Regions from separate parts of the Homo sapiens genome. Here regions 1, 3, 4, 5, 6 and 7 are each linked to region 2. Evidence: promoter capture Hi-C in human tissues and cell types (Jung and others, 2019). All regions are on one chromosome and are shown on one strand. Each heading gives the region's core, a stretch centred on a gene start or on the middle of the fragment in contact. The rest is flanking DNA. Distances are from core to core; before and after follow the strand shown. Region 1 has its middle 410 kb from the start of XYLT1. Region 2 holds the start of XYLT1 (xylosyltransferase 1). Region 3 overlaps XYLT1 (xylosyltransferase 1). Region 4 has its middle 310 kb from the start of XYLT1. Region 5 has its middle 350 kb from the start of XYLT1. Region 6 has its middle 440 kb from the start of XYLT1. Region 7 overlaps XYLT1 (xylosyltransferase 1).

Region 1 (2,700 bases), core at 98-2,597, 410 kb after region 2:
CAGAGTAAGACTCCGATTAAAAAAAAAAAGACATTTTGAGAAAGAAAGATGAAGATACTGCTGGGTCCCTCAACCTGAAGTTGGAAACCCCAAATGGTATGACAGAAAGCTGGAATCCAAAAAGAAACTCCTTGCAACATTCCCCAAGCTGGTATGGAATGGCACTGGTCAGACAGCCATGGCTGAGGGACCTCACTGAGTCCCACCTGCTACAGCCTGGTACAGAAAGCCAGGGCTGTCACATACAGCCACATAGGATATGTCCTGCACAACCCTGGACTCCACCACAAAGACCAAAGGCCAGCAAACTTTTTCTGCAAAGGGCCAGACAGTAAATATTTCAGCCTTGCGGGCTATATAACCTTTGTCACCACGATCAACTCTGCCACTGTACTGCAAAAGCAGCCATAGACAATATGTAACTGAGTGGGTGTAGTTCTGTTCCAATAAAACTTTATTTACAAAGTCATGTGACAAGCAACCTTTGGGCCAATGTTTGCCAACCCCAAACATACATTAGGATGTTATGGTGTCTCCCCAACATAGCCATCCTGCAGAAAAACCTAACAAGATTCCCTGCCTCCTTCCTTTTAGAGGGGCTCAGAATTTCTGAGAGAATTGATAGAGCAGAAGAGGCCTGGCTTAGGGTGAGGAGATCACAGAATGAGGTAACCTTAGGACCAGAGCCAATGGCAGAGATCTATAATGTCAGCAGGGGCGATCAGTAACATGCTCAAAAAATATCAGGAAGGAGCAGTTTCTCTGCAGTGGACACCAGTGCAGGGCACTCAGGGTCAAATTGAGACTCAGAATTCTGCAGCAGAGGCCAGAAAGGACGATGTCCAGCACACGGACAGAAACAAACTGTTTTACGAGCTCAGATGTCACCTTCAAGAGACAAAGGAGAAAGAGACCTAGAGAAAGGAAATAATCCTGTGAAAGAATTTGAATGTTTGATTCTTTGCCAAGAATAAATTTACAATGGAAAAAATTATGTAAAACCAGTTTCTCTTGTATATCTGTCCCAGGCAGCAGCAGGAATGGAAACTTAGGGCAAGACAAGATATGTGATGGAAAATTAAAGAAGTCACACAGACCCCTGTTCATCTGATGTCTAGTGAGGATATTCCAAATCTCCTGCATGTGGGGGCTAGTCTAGGGCTTCAAGGGATCCCAGTGCAGTGTATTCCTGCCAGGAAAGGCTAGAACTCTGGCCTTTTTGTGCAAGGCCAATGCTTTTTTATAAGAAGTTTTTATTGTGGTAAAAATATCCTACAAGCTGTACCATATCCTACAAGCTGTAGGATAGAGATGATATCGAAGAAGGATATAGGTCCTCCCCTCTTTTCCCTGTAGGAGGCCGCAGGGGAAAACCACAAGGGAGAGGGAAAAACACATAAAATATAGTTTACCAGCATAACCATTGAAGTATTAAATACCTTAATTTAATTAACCATTGTACAGTTCAGAAGTATTAAATACCTTAATAGGCTGGCCGCGGTGGCTCAGGCCTGTAATCCCAGAACTTTGGGAGGTCAAGGCTTGAGCCCAGGAATTCAAGACCAGCCTAGTCAACATGGCGAAACCCCGTCACTACTAAAAATATAAAAATTATCCAGGCGTGGTGGTGCATGCCTGTAATCCCAGCTACATGGGGGGGCTGAGGTGGGAGGATCGCTGGAGCCTGAGAGGTTGAGGCTGCAGTGAGCCGAGACTGTACCACTGCACTCCAGCCTGGGAGACAGAGCAAGGCCCTGTCTTAAAAAAAAAAAAAAAAAAAAAAAGAAAGCATTAATTTAATAATATGCAGCCATCATACCATCCATCTCACTAACTCTTTTCATCTTGTAAAACTAAGAAAAACTCTACACCTGTTAAAAAGTAACTCCCCATTTCCCCTTCCCCAAGCCCCTGGAAACCATCATTCTGCTTTCTATCTGTATGCATGTAACTGTTCTAAGTACTTCATGTATGTGAACTCATACAGCATTTGTTCTCTGATGACTGGCCTATTTCCCTTAGCATAATGTCCTCAGGGTTTATTCATGTTGCAGCGTTGTGTGAGAAGTTCCTTCCTGGCTGGGCATGGTGGCTCATGCCTGTAATCCCAGCACTTTGGGAGGTTGAGCCAAGAGGATTGCTTGAACCCAGGAGTTCAAGACCAGCCTGAGCAACATAGTGACACCTCATCTCTACAAACAAACAAACAAACAAACTTTTTGTTTTAAAGTTACCCAGGCATGCACCCATAGTCACAGCTACTTGGGAGGCTGAGGAGGGAGGATTGGTTGACCTTGGGAGCTGAAAGCTGCAGAAAGCTATGATCGTACCACTGCGCTCCAGCCTAGGTGACAGAGTGAGACTCTGTCTTCAAAAAATAAGAAAGAAAGAAAAAGAAGTTCCTTCTTTTTAAAGGCAGACTAATATTCCCTTGTATGTGTATACTACATTTTGTTTATCTGTTCATCCATCCAGGGACACTTAGGTTGCTTCCAAGCTTTAGCTCTTGTAAATAAGGCTGCTGCTTTTCAGAGCAGCAGGCATCACTACACTGGAGAAGGCCAAAGTTGTCATGTTTGGCATCATGACGGTCTTTACTACATGTACTGGCCTGGAATGTTCTATTTTGCGTTTTTATTTTTCCATAGCAAGCCCTGGAGTGGCACTCGGTCTAACTGGAGAGAGAAATGAATAGAGATT
Region 2 (2,700 bases), core at 135-2,634:
AGGCCTATCTCACTATATTTTAATGATTAACATCCACATCAGGCTTCTCTAGACCTCAGGCTTGCTGAAGATGAGATTAAACCTCATTCACCTTTGGATGCGTGCACCTGGCCCAGTGTCTGACACAAGCTTTGTATTCACGGATGCTTGTGGAGTGGATGAAACAATCTCTTCCCACTCCCTGCCTCATTGTCTGATGAGCCTTCATTACACTCCACTTTCTTCTCTTTGTAAATTAGGATGAGGTGAAAAAGCACAGCAGACAAGATGCGAAGCATTCACGCCAAGTCCTCAATTCACAAACTGATTTGATCTGCTGTTGTATTCCCAGAGTGCTAGGTCCCGTATGGGACACCAACGCCATCCCATATGCTCACTGTTCTGCGCTGCTGTGTATAAAGCCCTGGGCAAGAGGACAAGGGAGGGAAAAACCAGAAAGACTGAGTCAGAGAAGGCTCGGGATGAAATTTGAGTCCATTGGGATCATTCTGCCTAAACGACAGAGGAGAAAGCTTGGGCTCAGGGAGGAGTCCTCCTCCTCCTGGCTCAAGGTCACCGGGACAGACCAGTCAGGATGGGAAAGAACTCCACTTTCAAGAGCAAGACCTGTTTCCCCAGGACCTGGGCCCTGTGCAGACAGGAAGGGGGACTTCAGGATGGATGGGGAAAAGGACACGCTGGGAGGCTGCGGGGCCAGCCTTTGGGGCTTGCATCCTGCGAAGGTTGAGTAACTCCACGGGTCTCCCTTTTGCCGCTATACCACTTGCCAACTGGGTTTGGAGTCTCTTGGCTTGTGAGTCCTCAGGGACCAGAGAAGTGACTCAGTGAACACTTAGTACATCGTTGGCACCGGGGATTGTGTGTGATTCAGGAGTCACTCACAGAGCTTGTGCTGATTAACTCCAGAAACTCACCCAAAGCCTCCTCCCCACCCCTTCAAGCCCAGGATGAAGGGATCAGACTGTGGCTCTGACACTCCTGAAATGTTTCTCACGTGTCCACCTGCCAACCGGTCTGGTACCGACAGAAGATCCCTGGACCGCGAACTCCGGGGCTAGGAGCTTCCTCCACGCACTGCCTCCTTCCAGCGGCCCACAGGGAAAACAGGACCTCGGGACCCCCTCTCTTCCTGACCTCCCCTGGATTCTGAGCGGGCCCACCCTCAACCAAAGGTCCCCTGTTTCGCGGCCCCTGCCTCTCTTTTTCCGCCTTGGGAATTGTCCCCCTCGCCCCCCATCCTACTCCCACTACGTCCTGAGGGGTGTCTGTCTTCTCTGATCGCCCCCACCCCCTTCCTTTCCCTCCTCCTTTTCCTCCCTCGGCTCCTCCCCCAGGCCCCGCCCTCTCCGCCTCGGCCCGCGTCCCCCCGGCGCCTTCCCCATCACCCTCCCCTCCAGCGGGGACAGGGGTGTGGGGAGGGGGGCGGCGGCGGCGGCCCGAGCGGGAGCCCGAGCGGCAGCCGGCGGCCGCGGGAGCTGCGGGGAGCGCGGGGGCGGCCCGGAGCGTGCCGGGGTCCCCGCGCCTCGCTCGCCGGCCGCGCTCCGAAGATGGTGGCGGCGCCGTGCGCCCGGAGGCTGGCCCGGCGCTCGCACTCGGCGCTGCTCGCGGCGCTCACGGTGCTGCTGCTGCAGACGCTGGTCGTGTGGAATTTCAGCAGCCTCGACTCCGGGGCCGGGGAGCGCCGCGGGGGCGCAGCGGTCGGCGGCGGGGAGCAGCCGCCCCCGGCCCCGGCCCCGCGCCGGGAGCGCCGGGACCTGCCCGCCGAGCCGGCTGCAGCCCGAGGAGGAGGAGGAGGCGGCGGCGGAGGAGGAGGAGGACGGGGGCCCCAGGCGCGGGCGCGGGGAGGCGGCCCCGGAGAACCGCGGGGACAGCAGCCGGCCAGCCGGGGGGCACTGCCCGCCCGGGCTCTGGTAAGATGCCCTTTCGGCTCGCGCCCCGCGGCGAGGGAGGGAGGAAGGCAGCCCGACCCCACGCCCCCCTAGCCCTTGAACTCGGTCATCAGACTGGGACTCTGCAAGCCTACCGACTCCACATCGCCTCTTGCCCCGGGAAGCCGGGTGGGGTCCCTGCCAAGGCTCAGGGGTCGTGGGCTGCCCCTTTCAGAGTCTGAGCACGGACCCCTTGGGGTCTGGGGGAAGTTTTCTCCAGCGGGGGCGCTTTGGGGGTTACCGGAGCCTGGCTGGGTTCCTGTTCCCCATCACTCTTGCTGGGGACCCCAGGTGACTTGCTCCGTGCGTGTAGGTCTTGGTGACTCGCTCCCTGCCTGAGTGAGTGGATCTCCCCGGATCCTCAGCCGCTGTTCCTGGGCGGTTGTCGCAGCAGCATCTCTCTGGTTTTTGCCGAGCTGGGTGCAGACAGTTGAGCCCTCTGTTCGTCCTGGCCTGCGATGAGGGCTGAGCTGGGCGTCCCAAGTCCCCGACCATGCCCCTGAATCAATACTCAGTCCGGGGTGTCTGGTCTTACTTTGGGTCTTCTGTTTCTCTTCTCTGGATGTTTGAGCCTTCCGTCTTCACCTTCTCTGTCTCTAACCTTGCCGTCTCCCATGCCCTCTGTGACTTTATCTCCTCCCCATCTCCAGTTTCAGGGCATGGCTCCTTCTCCTAGCTGGTTGTCTCTGTCTTTCTGTCTTGTTGCGGCCGGTTCAGGTCACCAGCTGTGTGTCCGACCACACCGTCAGGGCTTCCACTCCTATGGGATTAC
Region 3 (2,700 bases), core at 84-2,583, 350 kb after region 2:
TGAAAGAGCCCAAATAGACAATCTAAGGTCACACCTTAATGAGCTAGAGAAACAAGAACAAACCCAAACCCACCAAGGAGAGGTGAAAGACCTCTACAAGGAAAACTGCAAAACACTGCTGCAAGAAGTCATAGATGACACAAGCAAATGTCATGCTCATGGATGGGTAGAATCAATATTGTGACCATGACCATACTGCCAAAAGCAATCTACAAATTCAATGCAATTCCCATCAGAATACCACCATCATTCTTCACAGAACTAGAAAAAGCAATCCTAAAATTCATATGGAACTAAAAAAGAGCCTGCATAGCCAAAACAAGACTAAGCAAAAAGAACAAATCTGGAGGCATTGCATTACCCAACCTTAAAGCATACTATAAGGCCATAGTCACCAGAACAGCATGGTACTGGTATAAAAAAAGGCATATAGAACAGTGGAACAGAATAGAGAACCCAGAAATAAAGCCAAATACTTACTGATCTTCAACACGGCACACAAAAACAAAGTGGGAAAAGAACACCCTATTCAACAAATGGTGCAGAAATAATTGGCAAGCCACGTGTAGAAGAATGGAACCGAATCCTCATCTCTCACCTTATACAATAATCAACTGAGGATGGATCAAAGACTTAAATCTAAGACATGAAACCATACAAATTCTAGAAGATAAAATTGGAAAAACCCTTCTAGACACTGGCTTAGGCAAAGACTTAATGACCAAGAACCCAAAAGCAAATGCAACAAAAACAAAGATAAGTAGATAGGACTTAATTTTAAAAGTTTCTGCAAGGCAAAAGAAATAATCAGCAGAGTAAACAGACAACCCAGAGAGTGGGAGAAAATCTTTGCAATCTGTAGATCCAACAAAGGACTAATATCTAGAATCTACAAGGAACTCAAATCAGCAAGAAAAAACAATCCCATCAAAAAGTGGGCTAAGGCCATGAATAGACCGTTCTCAAAAGAAGATATACAAATGGCCAACGAACATATGAAAAAATGCTCAACATCACTAACGATCAGGAAAATGCAAATCAAAACCACAATGCAATACCACCTTACTCCTGCAAGAATGGCCATAACCAAAAAATAACAGATGTTGGCATGGATGTGGTGAAAAGGGAACGCTTTTATGCTGTTGGTGGGACTGTAAACTAGGACAACCACTATGGAAAACAATGTGGAGATTCCTTAAAGAACTACAAGTAGTTCTACCATTTGATCCAGCAATTCCACTGTGGGCTATCTACCAGAGAAAAGTAAGTCATTATACAAAAAAGATTCTTGCACACGCATGTTTATAGCAGCACAATTCACAATTGCAAAAAAAATGGAAGCAGCCCATCAATCAGTGAATAAATTGTGTGTGTGTGTGTGTGCGCATATATATATATATACCCCATGGAATACTACTCAGCCATAAAAAGGAACGAAACAATGGTATTTGCAGCAACCTGGATGGAATTGGAGACCATTATTCTAAATGAAGTAATTCAGGAATGGAAAAGCAAACGTTGTATGTTCTCACTCATAAGAGGGAGCTAAGCTATGAGGAAATCAAGGCTTAAGAATGATACAGTGAGTTTGGGGACTCATGGGCAAGGGTTGGGGGATATAGGGGAGGGGATATAGGGGATAAAAGACTACACATGGGGTGCAGTGTATACTGTTCAAGTGATGGGTGCACCAAAATCTCAGAAGTCACCACTAAAGAACTTATTCATGTAAGCAAACACCACCTGTTCCCCAAAAACCTATTGAAATATATACATATACATACACATTATAAACTCAAAAAATAAATAAATAAACGCAATGGAAAGCCATTGGTTGGTTGGAAGCCAGGGAGCAGTATGTTAAGCTTGAATTTGAATATGTATTTGAATTTGGGTAATTGACCATTCTGCAGTGGATGGTGGTGGACTTCCACAATGAGGCCCCTTGAGAAGGTCTTGGAGGATGTGACAGCAGCAGGGCCCTAGCTCAGGCTGCCCCACACCTCACCCTTCACGCTCCTCGGTTGAAAAACAAGATCCAGGTTGTTTGTCAGCTGCTCCAGAACTCTCCTGCCCAGGTTATCTTGGTTTTAAAACTCGATTTCAGGGAAGTGTTTATCCTCATTTCTTTGGAGGATCCAAGGGCAGTGTTCTGGAGGGTTCCCATCTTCCCCTAACTGGTGAAAAATCACCTCCTTAAATATGACCCTAAAGTAGTTTTGTGGCCATTCATCTGTTTTGTTAGTATCTGTTGGAAACTAGTGCATGGAGGGAAGTCCATGTGTTCAGCCCCTACTCATTCAATATGTGTTCAAGATAGATTGATAGACAGGTGATACATAGATTGATTAACAGACAGACAGATGGGTGGATACGTTAATAGGCAAACAGATGGATAGATGATTAATGGTTACAATAGAGTTGACAGATTAATGTGACAGATTGGTAGAGATAGATGATAAACACACATAAGTAGATGATCAATCTGTATAGATCATTGATCGATCAATAGACAATAGGTGCTCAATATATCTTTATTTTTAGATCTCTATAGAGATATATTGAGCACCTACTCTATGTTCAGCACTGTTTCAGACACTAGAGACATATTGGTGAGCATGCCATATATAGTCCCTGCCCTCTTGGAGTTGACGGTCTAGATCTGGAGAGAGAGAGACCTGTAAATTAAAAGATGCAGTA
Region 4 (2,700 bases), core at 40-2,539, 310 kb before region 2:
ATATTGTAAATCTGCCTTCCAGATTACTTGATTCGTAATCATCTCTCTTACCATTAGAAATTATTTTTATTCTAATATATAATTTTTTCTTTCATAACTTTTTCATTGCCTCAATATTTAGAAAGTTATTGGTCACCCTTAAATCATAACATTTTCCTCATATTTTTCTGTTTTGCTGTTCTTTTCCTTTCTGTCTTTGAATATTGGTGTGTATGTTTAACCCTTTGCACAACTTGGGATTGATTTTGCTTTACAGCAAGAAGCGAAAATGTTTGTTTTTGCTCAGTTACCAGCTCACTGCCTTCTGTAGCATTATCAAATAAATCCTCTTTGCCAAACATGGTCTGTCAAATCTCAGCCCTATGCCTGTCCTTATGTCTATTCCACTCTACACCACAGCGGGGAACCTGAAAACTATATTTCCAGAGTTCCTTGGCGGCTGGGTATGGGTCGATGGTGACCAGTGGGGTCGATCACATGAGATTCACAAATGGGAAAAGTGTAGAAACTGTTTTTCTGCTTCTGGCGACAGCATCAGCAGTATTGTAAACTCTTGACTTCTTGATAATACCTCTTTTCATCATCCAGCTCTAGAGAATGTACTGGCTTCCTACAGGTGTTAATCCCTGGGCAATCTCTACTTTGCTCCTCTTATTTTTCTACACATTTGTAATCAATTCCCTGTATTAAAGTCCCTACTGTTTGAAATACCTAGAGTGATTTATGTTTTCCCAAGGGTACATTAATTGATCTGATGGATGAATCTTCCTCTTCCTATTGATTTACAGTGCTGAACTTATTGTGTACATGTGTGTGCCCATGTATGTGCGTGCAGGTGTAGAAGAAAGAAGGGATAGAAAGAAAGAATGTGTACTATTTGTTTTGGAGCTATATATGTTAGTTCATTGATCCTTTTGCCAATTCTTGCCCATACATATTTATCATTACAATTATTGTACCTAAAGTGTGCATTTCGGTATCTGACAGTACAAATCTGCCCTCATCCTTCTTTTCTCATATGGTCTTCACTATCCTCATCTACTTATCAAGCTGTGTTTTTAAGAAGAAAAGTCTTAAGACCAAGCATGGTGGCTCACACCTGTAATCCCAGCACTTTGGGAGGCTGAGGCGGGCAGATCACTTGAGGTAAGGAGTTAGAGACCAGCCTGGCCAACATGGTGAAACCCCATCTCTACTAAAAATACAAAAATTAGCCAGGCTTGGTGGTGTGCACCTGTAATCCCAGCTACTCAGGAGGCTGAGGCAGGAGAATTGCTTGAACCCAGGAGGCAAAGGTTGCAGTGAGCCGAGATCACACCATTGCACTCCAGCCTGGGCAACAAGAGCGAAACTCCGTCTTAAAAAATTAAAAAAAAAAAGAAAAAGAAAAAGAAAAAAGTCTTTGAAGGAGAACTGATTGTGCTCTAGTATAACCTTTTTCTCTGCATCTCGCTGAAGCTGAGGGTATTGCATAAGAGAAGCTGACATTGCTTCACAGTGGAGACTCACAGAAACAGTCACACGCCATGTCTCCCCATCATGTGGGCACAGTGGGTGGTTGTGTCTGGGTGCACAGGTGATAAATGATTGCCATTCAGAATGTCTCTTCCTTACCACTTTGGGATCACCCTGTTTGGAGAAGAGGCTGCAGAATTGTCCTCCCTAACAATGAAAGGGGATCTTGCTTCCTGTGAGTCATCCTAACAATGCCCAAGGTCAGAAGAGAAATTTCCTGCAAGACCTTGCAATTTCTCAGTAATCCTATTTGGGCTCATTGGATGAAATGGCTGTGGGAAAATGATCTGATCATTATTGTAAACATCAGGGCAATCATGTCAGGAGATGCCTCTGAAACACACACCATCTCTGCTTCGGTAACTACTGAAAGGGAGGGGATTGGGGAAGGTGCTCATAGTTCTCTCTTTTTTTTTTTTGTCAGAGAAGACTTTCATGATATTCTGAAAACACCCCTAAGATCTCCCCTCTGGGCTCTCCTCGTGCTTTTCTGTGAAGCCTGGTTTGGTTGAAGACAAAGACTGCCCCCACTTTGGAAGTCCCAACCCTGGGGAAGCCTCTGGCAGTTTCCCCCGGTGCGGTTGGCTTTGTGTATAAGACCGCTTTGGAACTTGAAAGCACTCATCGTGACCCTCAGGGCTCGGTGCCCCGGGAGTCAGGCCCACTGAGAGTGAGTAGCAGTGAAGCTATTTCAGAGGGAACACAGGGACTGTGCCAGGCTGTCCTGGCAGGGAAAGCTGAGTAAAGGGCAGCATGACTTTGTGCAGAATTGGAGCAGAGTGGAAACAGCCCCCCACCTCCCACCACCGTAAGCTTTAGAGTCATACTGCGTGGGCTTGAATTCTGGCCGCTCTGCCTCCAGTTGGCAGGTGCTTTCTGTGCCTCAATTCCCTCCTCTGTACAATGTTAGAAATAACAATGACTGTGTTAAAGGCTAGACACAATTAAATGAGGCAATCCATTTAAAAACTAAAAATAGTGCCTGCATGTAATAAACACACCATCCCCATTCCTCACCCGACTCCTGACATTAATTCATTAGGTTAATTGCCTAAACTTTGGAGTCAGACTGCCCAGTTCATATCCTGATTCAGCCAGTTCCTAGCTGTGTGATGTTCAGTGAGTTGCCTAACCTCTCTGAGCCTCACTTATTTGTAATCTAGATTTCATAACAGTACCCCCTTA
Region 5 (2,700 bases), core at 20-2,519, 350 kb before region 2:
TTTAATATGTCATAAATAAATGGCACTTGCTGTTGTTTACAATTAGGGTTATCATTATTTTTTATTTGTTTTTTTTTCTTGAACTTTCTCAAATTCACCCAATGGTGGGTTGGATGATCTTACATACATAAACTTCAGAATTGGTCTTTAGTTTAAACTCAGTTCTAGCATGTACCAGCATGTGCCCTTAAGGGCTCATTTTATTTATTTATTTATTTATTTATTTATTTATTTATTTATTTTGAGACAGAGTCTCACTCTGTCACCCAGGCTGGAAGGCGTAATCTAGGCTCACTGCAATCTATGCCTCCCGAGTTCAAGCGATTCTCCCTGCCTCAGCCTCAGCCTCCCGAGTAGCTGGGATTACAGGTGTGTGCCACCACACCCTGCTAATTTTTGTATTTTTAGTAGAGACAGGGTTTCACCATATTGGCCAGGCTGGTCTTGAACTCCTGACCTCAGGTGATCCATCTGCCTCAGCCTCCCAAAGTCCTGGGATTATAGGCAGGAGCCCCTGTGCCCAGCTAAGAGTTTATTTCTTAAGCTTCTATGTTCTCTCTGAAGCTCAGTTGACTTCTACCCAAAGTACACAGAATGAAGAGTATGTTGCTGTGAGGTTGTGAGGAAGGAATAAGATAATACTCAGTAAAAGGTGGAAAGATACTTCATTTAATGAAATACATTGAAGTAGGGGTAAACTTACTTGCATGCTGGGCAAGTACATCTACTCCCATGAAGTTGATCATATTTGCAAGGGTGTAGGTTGTGGGTGTTTATGTATCTGAATATTTGTTAAAATGTTCAGTTCTGATGAGCTGAATACTTCTTGAAATCTAGGCTTGGCACATTTGCAGAGGGATGTGTGTCTTGGTCACAGGTAATTAGGACAACCTAGTGGGGGTCTTTGATGGGGCAGGACAATGCACTCTGGATCTGGTCTTGGACTGGAGAATTAGATTATTAGGATTAGGAAGACTTTCCAGAGCAAGAGATATCAACACTTAAGATACCTCATATCCTTTTCCCATAGAGTGTGCACAGCCCTAAGTAATCACAGGGCCTCCATTGCTAATACGGATTTTCCTGGGGACAGAGCAAATTATAATTTGGTTTTCAGGATACTCTTTCTCAGAATCATACATCATCTCTGGATAACTGTCGGTCTCTCAAGAACAAGATCAGGAAAGAGAGAAGACTTGTCTAAATCTGGGGCTTAGCCGAGGAAGAATGGCTGAATAATAAGATGGAGTAAATATTCCGAATGAAATATTCATGGTTGCAGAAAATAGGATCTGTCTAATAAAATGATCGCGCTAGGTTTCAGAGCCCCCTATGCCTCTCTGCAAATTATCCCCCAATCACATCTCTCCTGTGAGCATTAAAATATATAATTAATGCTCATTGTTAATAATACATTTCTAATTTCCAGTTGCAAAGATACAGCTTTTCCCTCCATTGGAGGATCACCTATATTTTGTCATTAACATTTTGTCATAAGAGGCAAGAATGATTTAAATGAACAATAAATCGACAGGCAAGCTGCTGATTTGGGCTTAAGCCAAACTCTTTGGGGAAGGGGTTCATTTATCACCTGGGACTTAGTGTAGTTCTTCTGCTGATTTATGTGGAAAGGAATGAGAGAGAGTTCTGTGGAAGGGTCTTGCGGCCCTGGGGGATTAGTAACAATAAATAGAGTAACTGGAGCAGCAGCTGTCACAGTCAGAGTAACTCCAGCTGAGAGAAGGATGGAATTTCTGGTTATTGGACCAGTTCTGGAGAACACCTGGCCCAAGTGTTCTGAATATCCAGCTGCCTATTGTACATCTCCATTTGGGTATTCCACTAACACAGGATACTCAACTCCCACCAAACTCTCTTCTCAAATGTGTTTTTCTTCCAGGGTATCTTTTCTTATCTACCTGTTTTGTCAAGTCAGGAACTTGGGGGTCACCCAGTGACACCTCCTGCATCTTGCCTTCTACATCCAAATAATCACAATTCTTTTCAAAGCATTCCCTCTTCCATTAGCTCACCAGGTCCCCACAAAAGCTTTGAGATGCAGGAGAAGCAGAATTTTTATTTCCTTTTTTCAATGGAAGAAACTAAGGGACTCACCCATAACCATACTGATAATGAATGACTTTCAGTATTTTTATATCAATGGTCCAGTGTTTTCCCCAGTATACCATCTTGAATGAGAAATTTGTTTTCTTCTTTATCTCTGACTTCTCTTACTTTGTGCCCAATAAATCTTTCTGGGACCTCGTGGTTACTCTGTCTTCCCAGGTCCCCACAAAAGCCTTGAGATGCAGGTGAAGCAAGATTTTTATTTCCTTTTTGGAATGGAAGAAACTCAGGAACTCACCCATAACCACACCGATAATGAGTGACTGTCAGTATTTAGGTGTCAGATATGTTTAACCCATTTATGCCAGAGATTGCAATTTTTTTGAATTGCAGACGTGTGAGAAATCAGACCTCAGCGATGACCTTGAGCAGTAGGATATAAATAACTCCCACATGCTTAGCGTTCCAGTAATGGAACACTAGACATACATGGGTTTTAATCAATGGTCCAGTGTAAGGAATTCCATTGTAAGGAATTCTCCTCTCTCTCAGGGAGTAAAACACAGACAGTATTCTTTTACCTAGTTTCCATCAAAGCTTGTGTATCCTATGTCCCATTCTCTAAGAATCTTT
Region 6 (2,700 bases), core at 169-2,668, 440 kb after region 2:
TGAAAGACGACAAGAGACAGGAAACATTCCATATTAAAGAAGACTACAGAGGCATGAAAACTAAATGTAATGCATGATCCTGGATTAAATCCAGAGCATGAAAAAAATGCTACAAAAACATTACAGGAATATTTGGAAAAATTTTAATAAGATCTACAGGTTACATAATTATATCGTATGAGTGGTGAGTTTTTCTGATTTTGATTACTATACTGTGTTTATTTAAGAGATAGTTCTTGGTACACACACTCTGAAACATTTAGTGGTAAATGAGGCATGATATCTGAAACTTACCTCATATTTTTAAAAAGCAGTATGTGCACGCCTACAGAGAGAAAATAAAGCAAATGTGGAAAATGATGAACAGTTGATGTATATGGGTGAAGAGCATACAATTTTGTACTAATCTCGCAACTTGCCTGTAAGTTTGAAATTATTTCCAAATGAAAAGTTGAAAAAATAAAATATCAGCTATCTGATGGATAACCCACAATATGACTACACACCCACCATGTTGTTTAAAATGAACAAAATCAATGATACCAAACATTGGTGAGAATGTAGATCAACTGGAATTATTTTTCATTGTTGGAGGGAGTGTAAATTTTACAACCACTTGGGAACACTGACAGTGTCTACTAAAGTTAAACAGATCCATAACTTGTGACTCAGTAATTTCATGCTTAAATATATGCCTATAAAAATGTATACATATACAAATTCTCCAAAATATATGCATTAGATATACTATAGCATTGCTATATTTCATAGCCCAAAATCAGAAACAACATACATGTCCACCAAAAGTAGAATGGATAAAAATTGTGACATATTCCCAAAATAGAACACTATACAGCAATTAAAAATGAATTATATCTGCTGACTACAACAGAGAATGAATCTCATGAAAAATATCAGGAAAAGGAAATCAGACAAAAATAGTGCATCGTGTTTGACTCCATTTATATAAAGTTCAAAAATAGGTAAAACTAACCTGCAATTGTTACAAGTCAGGAGAGTGGTTACCCCTTGCGGGGAAGGATTTAGTGGCAGGAAAGAGCTGTGAAAGTGCTCTTAGGAGTTTTGCCAATGCTTTGTTTGTTGATCTGGATGCTGGTGACTCAGATGTGTCAATTTCTGAAAACCCCTTGAGCTTTATACTTATGACACAGGCACTTTTCTGTATGTACGTCATTCTTCAGTAAAATGTTTACATTAATAAAGAGAAAAGGATAATGATAACAACGCCCAATAGCATGAACAGGACACTGTTGTATTTTCCATGGAGTGATTCAGATTGGTCATGAGATGTAGCTGCTATTGCTACACATGGAGAAACTGAGGTTCAAAGACGTTGAACAACTTCCCAAGGGTCACGCAGCCCAGAAGCGGCTAAGTAGAACTCAAATCTAGGCTTTTCAGTTGCCTGCGGAGTCTGTGTTCTTAGGTGCTGTGTTCCACTGTGTCCTAATGAAGAGGCCTTTGGAGTAGAGAAGACCTTCTCCATTCCTTCATCAAAAGGCCTTCTGAATAAACCCGGGATGTTAGAAATTATGCAAATAAGCTTAAAAAAATCAGAGACTCTGCTAATAAAGATGGAGAGAGGAATAAGGTGCCAAACTGCAATGTGATAATGAGGCTGATCTTAATGCCACTTCTCAGTCCTTGTTTGCAAAATTAAGATCTAAGAGGGGGAGGAAAAGAAAACCACCCCAACCATAAAAGGCAGGGTAGATACCCATGAGATAAAATGGTTGAAGAATGATCCAATTAGGAAATGCAATATAGCTCAGTAAGCCTTATTCCTATTATCACAGAAACCAAGCTTTGTAGTATATTCACTGCTGCAGGAGAAAGTGTAAGGAGAAATTAATGGTTTGATTCTAATTTTTTTTTTTTTTTTTTTTTTTACCAGTGGCAGATATGTTTTTGAATTATTAATCTGTGTTTTCTTTGCTGTATGTTTGGTCTTCCATCTCAAAAGAGATCTTAGGGATTTTTGCCATAGCAATTTGCAGAGGATTCACAAGATAAAGACATGAACTGGATTTATCAGACCAAGGAAGGGAAAACTAGCAGGAAGAGGCAGGATTTCCACCCCTAGAAATGGAAAGGGGGTTGCAGTTGGGAAGTGAGTGTCTTGCAAACAGTGGGAACTTTGGCCTTTATGAAGGAGCAGCACCCAAGAAATTTAGATATCAAAGGAGAAGCTATCAAGTACCCCTCTGAAAGCAGGACCCCAGGGTAAGGGGACAGCAACCCCACAAAAGGGTCTTGGGCTCCAATGTTAAAATAGAAGAAGAGGGTCACATGGTTTCAGGTAGTATGCACATCAACAGAAAGTCCTATCTCAAGGATTCAATTCAATAACTACTGTAATAAACAAACTCTAGGGGTAGGGAAGCCTCAGTATTGACCAAAATTGTTTTTATTTTAAGCAACCTAACTGTTTGAGGGTTTGGGGTGAAGTTTACTAGAAATAAGGAAAATAAAGAAAAAATATTTCTTCCAACTCTGAGACTGAGGACTTGGATGCATGTCTCCTACATGCAAAATGGGTGGAAATTAACCCACATGGACTCCGAAAAAGCATTTTGCATTGAGAAAAATTACTTCAATGGAAAGAACATTATCCCCTTTGTTCTTCCCACTGCCTGCTTAATAATTCCTGAAGCTCCAGTCTGCTGTGACAAGCAAGGC
Region 7 (2,700 bases), core at 151-2,650, 330 kb after region 2:
AAAAAACCCTTCTGACATCCACAATGCTGATGGCACCCCTAAAAGGTATGTAGTGTGTAACCTGCACAACTGTATATGCTGACCCTTTCAGGACACACCCACATCAACTTTTTTTTTTTTTTTTTTTTTTTTTTTTTTTTTGAGACAGTCTTCCTCTGTCATCCAGGCTGGACTGCAGTGGCACAGTCTCTGCTCACTGCAACCTCTACCTCCAGAGTTCAAGCAATTCTGCTGCCTCAGCCTCCTGAGTAGCTGGGATTATAGGCGCCCACCACCACACCCAGCTAATTTTTGTATTTTTAGTAGAGATGGGGTTTTGCCATGTTGGCCAGGCTGGTCTTGAACTCCTGGCCTCAAGTGGTCCTCCTGCCTCAGCCTCTCAAAGTGCTGGGATTGCAGGCATGAGCCACCATGCCCGGCCGCCACATCAACTTTTGACGCATCCTTCACAATGACCAATCATGTAATGACCACCTTTTTACACCAAGCATGCCTTTTCTCATGTTGAACATTGCTCTATTATTCCCTGAAGAAAAGGGTGTTGGTTTCATAAGTCATACTCCATTAATCCAGAGTATTCTAAAACAGTCCTAGCCCCATCTAGAAGTGGGGAGGGGATCCAGTTCTGAAGGATTGTCACTGACATTCCCTTAGCTGCCTGCCGGTCAGAGCTGGGTTGAGGGATTCCAGATTCATCTTCCTGACCTCCAGGTTGATTGCACCCTCATTTCCAATCCAGCTTGAGAACAGTGCAGAGCTGGTTCCGTTTCTATTGAGTCTATGGCATTTCTCATGAACGGTCCCTTGTTCCTTCCCGGGACCACATAGGTTATGTGTGTTTCTGCAGGCCACACTCCCAGCACATCTCTCACCTGTGTCTGGGGCAGTGCCAAGCTCCGGGGAGGGCTGACTGCCCCCATCACCCAGAGGGATGATGAGCTTGTCATCACTGGGCCAGGTTTTACTATTCTGCACACATGTTAAGTAATCAGCTTTTAATCCTATTTCAGCAAAAATCAATCACCTCTTCTCTCAATTCTGATAACCTCCTCATCCATTATATTGCAGGGAATTTCTGTATCATTATGAAAGGACACAGGGCAATCAGTAATTGGGTACATCTTCCCACTGCTTGTTGGAGAATGTATGCCTCCCTGGGCTTGTAGGCAATTCAAGCTTAAAATCCAGGTTCATGGGCTTGTCATTTAGTGTCACAGGAAGGTCAGCAGGGGGTGGCGGCTGGAGCCTCATTTACCCACCCATCCATTTAGAAGAGATTGTTTGGGAGTTTGGCTATTTTTAATCAAGACGCCCACCACGATACTGGTGACCAAAGCTCCGTGTGTGTGCTTTCTCTGCCCCTCCCTGGCCCCAGCACACACAAGCACATATACTCCAGGGTCTCTGTTCAGTCCCACCTCCTGCATCTCTGCCTTCCCTCCCTTCTCCCAGACCACTTCAAGAGGACTGGTTTAGAAGAAATCAGAAGGCTGTGCCCATTAACTTGTAACGGGCAGACACAGATTCCCCAACAGCTTCCCTTAGGGAGAGAGAACAGGGAGGAAATATATTTGCCTGGGACTGTCTATTATAGAAATCTTTCTCTCACTCTCTGGCAGTCTCTCAAGTACTCCAGTGATTGATTGTTTCTCCTCTAGTTTTTCTTTTCAGATCCAACATGGCCTCTTTCTCAGATCCCTTAAAGCAGTTGGCCAAGAATCCTGGGATTAGGGAGAAAATATGGCACCTGGTTCAGTACCATGGACAGCAAGCAGCCCCACCCACTCCCTTCCCTATGTTGCCGTCTGGCGATGCAGGAAGCCCTGGGTCTAATGCAACCATCAATCTGGTCTCCCTACCCCAGGGGTGAAATTCCAGCACACCAGTCAGTCAGTCAGACTTGAATCCCTTTGATTTGTCTGTTGGACAGAGCATCCGCCTGCGCTCTGAGTTGGACCACATGGGCAGCTGACCTCAAATGCATGCAGAGAACATAAGAGTCCCTTGACAGTCAGGTAGTTGTGTTATACATTTTTGCATTGCTATGAAGGAAAATCTGAGGCTTGGTAATTTATAAAGAAAAGAGGTTTATTTGGCTTGCAGTTCTGCAAGCTGTACAGGAAGCCGCCCAGCTTCTGATGAGATGCCACATTCTTTTAAACAACCAGTTCTTACATGAACTCAGAGCAAGGGTTCACCATTTCCCACCCCAGTTCATCTGTGGGAGGCTGGGAGAGGTCTCAGGCTGGGTCCCTCTCTCCCCTGCAGTCCTTCTTCCATACGGTCCTGGAGAACAGCCCCCACTGCGACACCATGGTGGACAACAACCTGCGCATCACCAACTGGAATCGCAAGCTGGGCTGCAAGTGCCAGTACAAGCACATCGTGGACTGGTGCGGCTGCTCCCCCAATGACTTCAAGCCGCAGGACTTCCACCGCTTCCAGGTGAGACTTTCTCATGGTCTGCCAGCCTCCTAAGTGATGCCTTCCCAACAAACCTCTGCAGAAATCCAAGGCCAGACCTGCAGGTCATCTTATCACATGGTGCCCAAACCTGGCTGTTGATAATTAATAATAGTTAACAGTATCAACAATAGCCAGTGTTTATTGAGCACTTACTTCAGGGATGTTCTAACCACATTGACTCATTAACCCAAAAACAACAAATGACCTTTCATTATTATTCCATTTTAGGGATAT

What was found. The method cuts DNA at HindIII sites, captures the fragments that hold promoters and counts their contacts. A contact is called where the count stands out against the background at its distance.
Region 1: a contact is called between a fragment that was not itself captured here and the fragment with the promoter of XYLT1 in region 2, in 1 of the 25 tissues and cell types used here (lymphoblastoid cells).
Region 3: a contact is called between a fragment that was not itself captured here and the fragment with the promoter of XYLT1 in region 2, in 2 of the 25 tissues and cell types used here (H1 embryonic stem cells and dorsolateral prefrontal cortex).
Region 4: a fragment that was not itself captured here is called in contact with the fragment with the promoter of XYLT1 in region 2 in 1 of the 25 tissues and cell types used here (dorsolateral prefrontal cortex).
Region 5: a contact is called between a fragment that was not itself captured here and the fragment with the promoter of XYLT1 in region 2, in 2 of the 25 tissues and cell types used here (dorsolateral prefrontal cortex and mesendoderm cells).
Region 6: a fragment that was not itself captured here is called in contact with the fragment with the promoter of XYLT1 in region 2 in 1 of the 25 tissues and cell types used here (lymphoblastoid cells).
Region 7: a fragment that was not itself captured here is called in contact with the fragment with the promoter of XYLT1 in region 2 in 1 of the 25 tissues and cell types used here (spleen).

The regions. Positions count from the first base shown.
Region 1 is chr16:17,059,284-17,061,983 of GRCh38, reverse strand. No RefSeq gene overlaps it. Among named protein-coding and RNA genes, the nearest start is that of XYLT1, 410 kb to the left of the region's middle. The HindIII fragment of the contact is 3,096 bases long and covers 1-2,700 here.
Region 2 is chr16:17,469,644-17,472,343 of GRCh38, reverse strand. XYLT1 (xylosyltransferase 1) reads left to right here and starts at 1,384. Exons shown (of 12, transcript NM_022166.4): 1 at 1,384-1,910. The coding sequence starts at 1,548. It overlaps LOC107987234 (a long non-coding RNA gene), which reads left to right and starts at 1,917. Exons shown (of 2, transcript XR_001752091.2): 1 at 1,917-2,700. LOC105371106 (a long non-coding RNA gene) reads left to right here. Exons shown (of 3, transcript XR_933144.3): 3 at 240-1,337. RefSeq lists enhancers at 889-1,390, 2,165-2,214, 2,335-2,604. The HindIII fragment of the contact is 9,248 bases long and covers 322-2,700 here.
Region 3 is chr16:17,120,664-17,123,363 of GRCh38, reverse strand. The region is part of intron 10 of XYLT1 (xylosyltransferase 1); the gene reads left to right. Among named protein-coding and RNA genes, the nearest start is that of XYLT1, 350 kb to the left of the region's middle. The HindIII fragment of the contact is 4,420 bases long and covers 1-2,700 here.
Region 4 is chr16:17,776,585-17,779,284 of GRCh38, reverse strand. No RefSeq gene overlaps it. Among named protein-coding and RNA genes, the nearest start is that of XYLT1, 310 kb to the right of the region's middle. RefSeq lists an enhancer at 2,144-2,644. The HindIII fragment of the contact is 3,762 bases long and covers 1-2,700 here.
Region 5 is chr16:17,822,594-17,825,293 of GRCh38, reverse strand. No RefSeq gene overlaps it. Among named protein-coding and RNA genes, the nearest start is that of XYLT1, 350 kb to the right of the region's middle. The HindIII fragment of the contact is 3,598 bases long and covers 1-2,700 here.
Region 6 is chr16:17,031,023-17,033,722 of GRCh38, reverse strand. No RefSeq gene overlaps it. Among named protein-coding and RNA genes, the nearest start is that of XYLT1, 440 kb to the left of the region's middle. The HindIII fragment of the contact is 3,439 bases long and covers 1-2,700 here.
Region 7 is chr16:17,138,100-17,140,799 of GRCh38, reverse strand. XYLT1 (xylosyltransferase 1) reads left to right here. Exons shown (of 12, transcript NM_022166.4): 8 at 2,269-2,445. LOC102723692 (a long non-coding RNA gene) reads right to left here. Exons shown (of 3, transcript NR_135179.1): 3 at 2,068-2,558. Among named protein-coding and RNA genes, the nearest start is that of XYLT1, 330 kb to the left of the region's middle. The HindIII fragment of the contact is 4,981 bases long and covers 1-2,700 here.